Regions from separate parts of the Homo sapiens genome. Here region 2 is linked to region 1. Evidence: promoter capture Hi-C in 16 types of primary human blood cells and fetal thymus (Javierre and others, 2016). All regions are on one chromosome and are shown on one strand. The core of a region is centred on a gene start or on the middle of the fragment in contact, and the rest is flanking DNA. Distances in the headings are between cores, read along the strand shown. Region 1 holds the start of METTL5 (methyltransferase 5, N6-adenosine). Region 2 has its middle 48 kb from the start of DHRS9.

Region 1 (5,540 bases), core at 882-3,381:
GGCGCGGTGGCTCACGCCTGTAATCCCAGCACTTTGGGAGGCCGAGGCAGGCGGATTACTTGAGGTGAGGAGTTTGAGATCAGCCTGGCTGACATGGTGAAACCCTGTCTCTACTAAAAATACAAAAATTAGCCGGGCATGGTGGCGCACGCCTGTAATCCCAGCTACTCCGGAGGCTGAGGCAGGAGAATCACTTGAACCCAGGAGGCGGGGGTTGTAGTGAGCCGAGATCGCGCCACTGCACTCCAGCCTGGGTGACAAAGCGAGACTCCGTCTCTAAAAACAACAACAACAACAACAACAACAAAGAAGAACAGGAGTGTTTCCAATCCATAACCTTGTGTTTGAAATGAATGAAACATAATTAAAACAGGTTATTCCTGGTCTTCTACATGAGTTAAGTATGTCACGATCATCATATAACAGTGATAAGTTAAATTTGCTCAATAATTTTACGAATCACTAAATTATAAACTAAATAAAACTTTATGTATTAACTTTACATGCTAAAACTTTGTATGTTTTAACTCATTTGATTCTCATAACAGATAACTTTGAATTCTGCTATTCCTAGAAGTAGCAGCCTCAGACACTTCTCTACTTCGTCATCGTCCATTCACTCTTTTTCTTCTTCCTATAATAATGCAAAGAGGTGTCCATCCACAGGCTTAAACGCAATCCTGCAATCCTTTTACTTAACCACTGGATCCTGCCTTCTCAGGATCCCAACTCCATCCAATATCCTCTTGCATTTTTAACCCCTCTCTTTCTATTAGCTCAATTCTTGTCAGAATTTGTCTCCTCCTGTCTTAAAAATAATTGAAAAAATAATAAAGCTTCCCCCATTACTAAGCATCCAACCATTCTTTTCGTAGGCCACCTTTCTCTTTCTCTTTCTTTTCTTCTTTCTTTTTTTTTTTTTTTTTTTTGAGACAGGGTCTCACTGTCGACCAGACTGGAGTGCAGTGGCGCAATTTCAGATCACTGGAAGCTTTGCCTCCCGGGCTCAAGCGATTTTCCCACCCCAGCCACCCGAGCAGCTGGGACCACAGGCTCGCGTCATCAGACCCAGCTAATTTTTGTATTTTTAGTAGAGACAGGGTCTCCTTATGTTGCCCAGGCTGGTCTCAAACTCCCGTCTCAAGCAATCCGCCCATCTCGGCCTCCCAAAATGTTGGGATCACAGGGGTGAGCCACCGCTTCCGGGGCCACGTTTAATTGTTCACATTTACTCTTTCTTCTTCCTAAATTTCCATTCGCTCCACAATCTGCTACAACTTAATTTCTGCTCCTACTTTATGAAGCCCGACCTCTTTCCAGTATTTGACACCACTACCTATTCTTTTATTTTCATTTCCACTGTCTTTTTTTTTTTGAGACGGAGTCTCGCTCTGTCTCCCAGGCTGGAGTGCAGTAGCTTGATCTCGGCTCACTACAAGCTCCGCCTTCCGGGTTCACGCCATTCTCCTGCCTCAGCCTCCCGAGTAACTGGGACTACAGGCGCCCGCCACCAAGCCCGGCTAATTTTTTTGTAATTTTAGTAGGGACAGGGTTTCACCGTGTTAGCCAGGATGGTCTCAATCTCCTGACCTCGTGATCCACCCACCTCGGCCTCCCAAAGTGCTGGGATTACAGGCGTGAGCCGCCGCGCCCTGCCTCTCCACTATCTCTTCTTTGGGTTTCTTTGACATCACCACTCCTGTGAGAATTGCAAGTGACACAAATGACCTAAAAATTGGGAAACAAAGTTACAATAAAATAAGGCATGAGAATGGAGAAGGAGGTAAAGGTGAATGGAGATCGCTACTTTTTGAGCCGAGACTTGGGAAACAAGAAGAGTCACTCTGGGCCATACAACAAAGTGACTGTGACTTTCTCTCCCGCATCCCTTTCACTCTGTCTTTCCCCATCCTTTGAGGGCCCGCAGGTACTCATGGCAAACTAGAGGGTAATGAGCACGCGACAGGCGGCGAGGACTGGCGGTGGGTCAGCAAGTAGCGCAGGCTTTGCAGGCGGAGGGGATGGGGCAATGAGGCCCCCAGGTGGCCAGCGGAACCCCGGCTCAAGATAAACGCTGCAGCTCGGCGCCGGGCCGCTGGGCGGCGAACGCGTGCGCGCGTGCGGCCTGGCGCTTCCGGCACCGGCCGAGGTGCGGGTCGCCTCCAGAGGTGCGTGGTCGTGGCGCGAGGGATCCTGAGGCTGCTCCAGCAGTGCGCCGCCGCCGTCTCCTGGGGCGGCTTGGGTTAGCCGGGAGGTGGGTCAGAGGCTCGCCCCGTGCCCTGCGTCCGGGCGTCTCCTTAGGGCGCGTCTTCGGGTCCGGCCAGCGGTGCTGAAAAAGGGAGAAGGTTGGGGGTAGGGAGGAAACAAGATCCCAGTTCAATAGATTTCTCCGCAGATCCTGTGCCTTCAAACCCTACGAGTCCATACTTTAAAACAAAATGAAGAAAGTAAGGCTTAAGGAACTAGAGAGTCGCCTGCAACAAGTGGATGGATTTGAAAAGCCCAAGCTACTTCTGGAACAGTATCCTACCAGGCCGCACATTGCAGGTAGGGCGGCTGGTTCACCACGCCCCGGCTTTCGGCGTTAGTCCAGTCTACTCTGTGATAAAAATAGAACAGTTATTTGGATACAGAGAATGTCTAGAGAAATTCTGCCCTAAGATCACCTGTCGCGTTAGAGAGGCCTTCCTTGACACTGCAGCTCAAGGCACACCCTCCACAGACATACACACTATCATTTTACTGTCTAGTTTTCTGCATATCCCTTAACACTGCCAGACATCTTTTTAATGTGTTTTTTTCTCTTCTCACATTACAATCTCTGAGGACAAGGAATTTGTTAGACTTGTTCATACTTGAATTCCCAGTGCCCAGAAGAGTCGCTGGTACTATTTAGGAGCTCAGTAAACATTTACTAAATAAGGATCAGTTTCCCATTGCTACTAATTGCCTACGCAAGGATTCTTGTGCTATATACTCTGCCCTAGAAATGAATACCAGAGTTGATAGTGGAATGATAGTTTAACAAAATCAGAGTATGTGCTGTGTAAAGATGAGCATGCATATTTTAACAGATTTTCTGAGCATTAGCATTGTTGCTTCATGCCAGATATTGATACTGGGAGTACAAGAGAGAATACAGGACAACATATATTTATGTTACCGAAGTCATTGGGAAACCTTAGGGGAAAAAAATTTTATTATTATTATTTTTTGAGATAAGGGTCTCACTCTGTCACCCAGGCTGGAGTGCAGTGGCATGATCACGGCAACTGCAGCCTTGACCTCCAGGACTCAAGTGATCCTCCTACCTAAGCCTCCCGAGTAGCTGGGACTACAGGCATGCACCGTCATGCCTGGCTAATATTTTTTATTTTTTGTAGAGACAGCGTCTTGCTATGTTGCCCAAGATGGTCTCAGACTCCTGGGCTGAAGCGATCTTCCCACTGGGGCCTCAAGAAGTGCTGAGATTACAGGCATGAGCCACTGAGGCTGGCTCCTTAGGAAAATTAATTTTCTGAGAGTACCTGCAAGGAGTTTTTTCCAGTTCCAAAATAGTTGTTTCTAAGTTGTCAATGAAAGTCAAGGAGAATACATGTGTATTTACACTTAACTCCAAGATACTGTCATGATTCCAACCAAAAATTCACACAAAACTACTGTGTCTAGGTTAAGACCAGTTTTCTCAAATAATGACTTACTAGTCTTCTGACTGTAGGTTTTTTTAGTGGAATCCAGTTTAAAAAATAATAACAATCTGGCCAAGTACAGTGACTCACCCCTATAATCCCAGCACTTTGGGAGGCCAAGGCAAGAGGATGACGAGCCCAGGAGTTCAAGATCAGCCTGGGCAATACAGTGAGACCCCAGCTCTTAAAAAAAAAAAATTAGCCTAGTGTGGTAGTATGTGCCTATAGTCCCAGCTGCTGATACTAAGGCAGGAGAATTGCTTGAGCCCTGGAATTTCAGGCTGCAGTGAGCTCTGATCCGCCACTGCACCCCAGCCTGGGTGATAGAGATAGACCCTGTCTCTGAAAAAAAACAACAAAAAACTTCTGGATCCGCAGGAATCAGTGGCCAACAGTCCTTGCTGGGTTCAGATATCTTCAGGGAAATATCGGTGGTGGTGGTATTCATGTTTGACCTTCAGTGTGTATCTAACACCCAGTAGTTCTATTATCAGGTCTCATTTGTAGATTATGAATATATATGTCTGTAGATCATGAGTATATGTGTCTAAAGGCTACATTGTGGAGCTTATGGTGCTTGTGTTCTGGTGACAAACTTGTTAAAACAAAGTTCTGTGGCTAGGCACAGTGGCTCATGTCTGTAATCCCAACACTTTGGAAAGCCGGGGCGGGAGGATCACTTGAGCCCTGGAGTTCGAGAGCAGCGTGGGCAATATAGTGAGAACCTGTGTTTAAAAAAAAAAGAAAAAAAAAGATTCTATGTCTTTGTGATGCTAATGCTTGTTTGATAGTGGTTCCTAGTCTTATAGATTTCACAGATAAGTAAAATTTCAAAACAATTTTGGAAATTGATAGAGTTGCCAAATTTATGTTGACAAAAAAGGATTTTTTTAAAAACTATTTACTCTTACCATTCTTTCTTAAAAATATTTCAGCATCAAAGAAAGAACCGATATGAGTATATGGCAATGTTTTTAACAAGCTGAGGAAAAACTAAACGTTTTGACTTTTTTTTATTTTACCTCAGAGACTGGGCACAGTTTTGTCATTCTTGGCATTGCTAGCAGAGACTATTTTTTGAGAAACACTGGTGGGTATTAGCTTCCTTTATGGTGCCTCTTACTACATACCAAATCATTACCCCTTATCTTTTACAAAAATAATCTGGAATGGCATTTGGGGAGGACTAAGTAATGCAACACAAGAAATTATTTTAGAAAGAGTCATTTGCACAAATTAGATTTTAGTCACCGGCTTGCTTACTTATTCTTTTTTTTTTTATTTTTTAGCATGTATGCTCTATACAATCCATAACACTTATGATGACATTGAAAATAAAGTCGTTGCAGATCTAGGATGTGGTTGTGGAGTACTTAGCATCGGAACTGCAATGTTAGGAGCAGGGTACGTAATGCAATATATGCTATTTGGGTATTGGGTGGCTTTAATAAGGAGCATCAATGGGATTAACTGAATTATATTTATGAGACTCCACAGAATGAGATATAGGGAGCAAAAATCTGATACTGAATACATTTTGAATGGGCAGAAGATCTAAACAAACTACAAAAATTAAATAAAAATGGTGAAAGCAGCAGTTCCTTTTATACAAACCTGAGTTTCCAACCCCTGCCGGGTTTGGAAATTATGCTGTTACACTTGACTGGGCACAGTGGCTCATGCCTGTAATCCCAACACTTTGGGAGGCCAAGGTGGACAGATTACTTGAGCCCAGGAGTTTGAGACCAGCCTGGGCAACATGGTGAAATCCCATGTCTACAAAAAATACAAAAATTAGCTGGATGTGGTGGTGTGCGCCTGTGGTCCCAGCTACTTGGGAGGCTGAGGTGG
Region 2 (5,540 bases), core at 1,403-3,902, 710 kb after region 1:
GGAATTTGAACAATACTTAGAGGGCTACTCTCAATAGAGTGTCTTCAGACAAGCCAGTGCATACACACACACTCTTTAGTAGAGCTTTTCCCCTGCTGGAACACTTTTTGCAGTGTTGTGGAGCTAAAGTATCCTTGGCCTTCCAATCTGTTTAAGAATTTTCTGCACTGGGGCTGTTTGTCTCATAGTCTACCTTGACTCCTCTCTGGGGGTCCTATGAGGTCTTTATTATGCAAACAGAACTCCCTAGTGCCCCTCCCACACATACACCAAGACAAACCCTGATTTGTCTGGATTCCAGGACATGGGACAGAATGGATTTCATTCTGAGACCTTGGCCATTAATCATCTGTTTGGAATTGAGAATGAATTTCTCATAGAAACAATGTGTCAACTTATAGTTCAGATCTCTCTCCAGCTAACAAGAGCACATCCAATCCAAAATGTAGCCCAGCTGTAGAATTCATTGCTTGAGGCTTGGTTCTGTGGTTTGGCAACAGAAAGTCACACAGTCAGGAAGGAAGAGAATACAGAAAAAAGAAAAAGAAAACGTCCTCCTTTCCTGGGTCTTGGGCCAGTCCTGGGAAAGTTCCTGAAACAAACCAAGCATGTTGGATCTTTGGCTTCCTGCCAGCTCCCCAATGGACCCCTTTGCCAGCACCCAGCAGCCTCTCTTCAAACATTCCAGGACCCCTGCTGTGTGAAATTCATCAGCTTGGCACCCCACCCAGGCTGGGCCCACTCCTCAGCAGGCTCCAAGCACCAACCTTAAGTATCTAGCTGCCACCATGATCCCACAGTTCCCCTGCACAACTCTGCATGACAGAGCCAAATACAAGGACTGTTGGCGGACGTCGGATTAGGTTAGAAGCAGAGTGCAGTAAGCATCTCTGGCAAAACATCCACTATGTTGCTGTGAGCATGGGTTGTGTTCCAGCCCTACGTTAAGTGGTTTACCTACATCATTCACTCAACAAATATTTGAGCACCAAGAATACTGGTGTGGGCATCAGGGGTTATAGTGCAAATGAAATAAACATCCCTAATCTCGTGGGGCTTGCATTTGAATGCATTATTTCCTTTAGTTCTCATACTAAGCTTGAGAGCTAGTACTATCATATCTCCATTTTATTCAGTAAAATAACTTAGGTGCCAAGAGATTAAATAACATACCCCAAGAATATAGCAGGTTAAGTCATGAGACTAGGACTCCACGCCAGGCTCCCTACAATCAGAGACCTTGTCCTTACCACAAGGCCTGATCACCTGGGAGCCAGAACTCCACAACTCCCAGCCCCCACCACAGATGGGGTCAAAAAGGTAGGCTTAGTGGTCCCAACTTGTTCTTGATTTCCTCAACTTCTTCCCCTTTGTCTTCTTAGTTTATAGATTCTCAAGAGATCCTAGATATCCCCCAAGCTGAGGGAAGGGTGAAGATGGGCAGGAAGGCTGAGAATCACGGGTTGTGTGTGAATTGGGGGCTTTCTTTGTGACCACAGCCTCCATGGATCTAATTAGAGGTTTTCTCATGCCTCCTTGAAAGAGAAAGGGTAACTGTCAAACGTGTGAGTCATTGTGAGGCAGGAGAATTGGGAATTAGGGTAACCAAGGGTTAAGGCAGAAGCAAAAGAACAGCAGGTGCAGCCAGTTCTAGGCAACATTAAGCAGCATACAGCATACATCCTAGCTCCTGAGATAACAAGACAGAAGTTTCCACTTCAGCCTCTAATTGACCATGAGCCAAGTCTCCACTTCAGCCACTGATTGGTCACAGGCCAATCCTTCATAGGGTGTGACCAACTGGAGGCCTCTAAAGGGCACCTAGGGGTGTTACCAAACTAAATAAAAATTAATAAATATCTTAATAAAAATCTTAATGGGAGGGGAAGCTCTTGAACCACTTGCTGGAGCCCGCTCCTACAAGAGCTCCTACAGGCTCCTACTCTGTGAAAAGTACTTTTGCTTTAATAAATCTGTGCTTTTGTTACTTCGTTCTTTTGTCGCTTTGTGCATTTTGTTCAGTTCTTTGTTCAAAGTGCTAAGAACCTGGACAACTCACAGTCAAGACCTTCCATCTGGTAACAATTGTATAAATAAGTCGGTCTTGAAATAAAACATTTAGAATAGATTTCTTCAATGGCTATTCCCTGGAATCTGAATAACTGGTATACTTTACACACACACAAAAAGAAAACAAATAAATTCCCCTTTGCATTCCAGCATGAGCCATGCAATGCTCACTAGTCAATGAGTTGAAGAAGCAAGTAGAGACCATCTAAAGGGGTATGGGCAAGGTTCCTATGAGGTCTGAAAAGCCAGCTCATGAAGTCAGGGCCAGTACAATTTCAACCACCCCTGACCTTTCTAGCATTGAATGTAAGTTTAATTCTTCAGGTGATAAATTGGTCTGTAGAGACAAATGGAAACAACCCAGGACACATTTCCTGTGCTAATGTTTGATATCAGAGAAATGTCTCTTTCATCTGCAAGATCAGAATGCCTCCCTTTCTGCAATACAGAACTTTGGGTACCACCTCACTCAGCTTTAAATTCTGTATCCTCAGAAGACTGGGTCATTTCCTTCCACTTAAAACAGCCATCACATGTGTGCTTCTGGTCAGGAAAAGGATTCTGACTCTATTGACTCAAAAAGAGGACTTCCCCTCCTTCCCATCCCTCCATCCTTCTAAGTTCCCCCCTTCCTTTCCTCACTTATCATCCAAGCCTCATCCCTCCCTGTCCCCTCAGCCTTCTTTTCCAGGGGGCCTGAAAGGACCAACCACACATCCATCAAAGGCTGCCTCTGACAGCTGAGCTCAAGAATAAAACTAACAGAGCAGAGGAAAAGATAAAGAAAGAAGGTAAGTGGTGGGAGGAGAGAGAGAGATAGGAGTGTTAGGAAACCTTCCTCTAGGGCTGCTTTTTGTTTTATTTCAGTACACAATGAATTTCTTTTATTTTGGTATGCATCCACATTTCAGCATTTAGTGGTCCTGAACAGAAAGTGGAAAAATGCAGCACTTTGCCAGAAGTCAAGCCCACCAATTTCCAGGATCTGCTGCGCACACTGAGTGCTTTCTTAATCCCTGCTGAGGATTTTGAGACGCAGCACCACCAAAACCAAAGGATGCGCTGAATTCAAGGGTCTTTATGTTCCAGCTGCCAGATTCCAAACGAGACCCCAGTGGATTGCAAGGATGACCAGATGAGAGCCCTGTTTAAAACTTCTTCAATTTTTAAAAGTTGAAGAAGAAATGAAAGCAAAAGAAAATAATTCAGAGGGATCATGTGTGCTTACAAGTGTCTTCATGAGGTCTTTCTCCAAGTTTAGCCACCAAAGACTCTGAGAGCTGGCAGGTCTGAGTAACCCTGGTTGACTGTTCTTTTCAGCTTATCGAAATCTGAGCCAAAAAAACTCATCAGCTGATGATGATAGCAGAGGGTGGCAGGGCTGAGGACCTAATATTTACTTCCCAGGCTGGTGGCAAGTGAATAAATGCAGTTCCAAAACTAAACCAGGGAGGTCAGAGACTTGTTCCAACTTTACCTGGCTTCTGGCCAAAGCAAGGAAATGTCATGGAAAGTATTGGGTGGTGACAGTGCAAAAAGGGACTTGAGGAGGGGGAGGAAAAAACAGCACCCCTCGATAAAGTGGGGGAGAGAAGATATGGGGAAATCCCTGAATTCTTCACCACAGGCGAGCGGAGGGATTACAATCTATGCTCTGGCCAAGGGTGGGAATGGAGGAGTGTGGGGACAAGAGGATGGCTTGGAAGCGGCATCATTTAAGGCTTAAAGAAAAAGACCAGGGATGCAGGCAAAGCTCCTCACATACCCAGCAGTAGTTCCACAGGCTGCAACCCTAAATCATCACGTCTACTCTAACAAGCAGCCCTCAGGCTAGAGGGCTGTTGCAGAGAGGGGAGAGGGAGGGGAAGTGGGAGAAGGCAGAGACCCCAGGCCATGTCATCAGCAACAAGGTGATTGTGTGATGTGTCTTTTTACAGCTGAGTTAGATGTGTCCCACCAGTTATGACAGGAATCAATTTAAATAGATTTTCTTGATGCCAGAAGCTCAACTACGTGGACAGTATTTACACTTGACATGATGATTTATTATAGCACAACTTATATATTTCAAATGGACAAAAAAATTAGTATCATTTACAATATCTTAAGATAAATTTCCTTTGAATGGAAGCTTTCTTTCCAGTACTTTCAGGTCTACAAGATGTACCTAGAAAATTTACTACTGTGGAAAATGAAGACTGCTTCAGTTGAATGAGGGAAAAGGTGAAGGCCCTGTGGTTTTACTTTTTGATTAACTGCTGTAACAGTGTCCTTCAGGTGGCTGAGGGAGTTTCATATTTTCTTTAGACATCATTAGGTGCTAAAGCTCTTGCAGAACAACTTTGTATCTCTTATTTTTTAAATTTATTTTGTATCCTTCAGTCAACTCACACCAGCAGAACCACTTTGATGCTCTATGAATTCTGCCATTTTGCTAGCACTGATATGGCTCTTGGTCTACCACTCCATTAGAACTCTTAACTCCATTCATATTAATTTTTGTGAAAAATCTTACAAAGTGGGGTCCTTCTGGGTATTTAGGTCCACATTTTATTTTAAGGCTGTATATTCGGTTTTCATCAGTTGTTCTTGGAGGCCCAGTTACCATCTCTGTCCATCTTGTAAGTATCATGTCTTCATCGTCTTCTACACCCCAGCCACCTGTGCCATCACCTACTCCTTTCTAACCTTGTTCCAGTTCTTCCAACAGTTGGAAATTCTGAGGGACTTTTACTCCCAAGCCTGTGGTGGCATCACTCCTCTAGTACTTACTTTTTGGAGTGGTTGCCCTGTTAGAAAACCTGGTTCATGGAGGGCCAGGTCATTTTTATTTGTAGGTTAATTCATCCTTTGCTAAATACAACACAGTCCTGGCTCGGCAAATTGTTCTGTTCAATTCTCACAAATCAAGCATGCTAGAACGTGATAGCAGCATCAGATGAAATTTAGAGACATACCATGATGCTCCTTCTGGATTCCTCACCAGGGCCTGTGTTCCCATCTCCCAGCTGCGGAGAGCTCACAGCTGTGCTCCTCGATGGACTTGCCCTCAGCCAGGATGCTGCCTCACTCTAGGCTACGAGGGCAATCAAGGCCAAGGTCAGGCTGATGTGGTGAGCCAATGGCTTGATCTTCATGTCAGTTTGGGACAACTCGGAAGGATCATTCCCAGCTTCAGAGTGTCCTATGGGATTGATTGAGGCCTCCATGGCAATTGCACCACAATTCAGCCCTTCTTTTTGCCCTATCCTCCCTTCCTCCCATCTTTACAGCTACATGCATAGCTTTCCAGAACATTTGCGAAGTCTTACAAAACTAATGCTTAACTTCATAAAGGGACATATCCAAGCATCTTTCTCTGAATGAGAGGGTGAAAAGAAAGTCACACACTTCTATAATCTGTACACTAACTGAGTAGAAAGGGTGTAGGTTAGCAATGGCACAGGAAGTTGACTTTTCACCAGCAAGGG

What was found. Contacts are between HindIII fragments. The CHiCAGO score rates a contact against its expected background, and 5 or more counts as called.
Region 2: a contact is called between a fragment that was not itself captured here and the fragment with the promoter of METTL5 in region 1, in 1 of 17 cell types (neutrophils). The highest score is 5.5, in neutrophils.

Annotation. Positions count from the first base shown.
Region 1 is chr2:169,821,496-169,827,035 of GRCh38, reverse strand. METTL5 (methyltransferase 5, N6-adenosine) reads left to right here and starts at 2,131. Exons shown (of 7, transcript NM_014168.4): 1 at 2,131-2,547; 2 at 4,979-5,093. The coding sequence starts at 2,439. RefSeq lists a silencer at 1,382-1,585. The HindIII fragment of the contact is 10,424 bases long and covers 994-5,540 here.
Region 2 is chr2:169,114,462-169,120,001 of GRCh38, reverse strand. It overlaps the pseudogene UBE2V1P6. Among named protein-coding and RNA genes, the nearest start is that of DHRS9, 48 kb to the right of the region's middle. The HindIII fragment of the contact is 3,103 bases long and covers 1,101-4,203 here.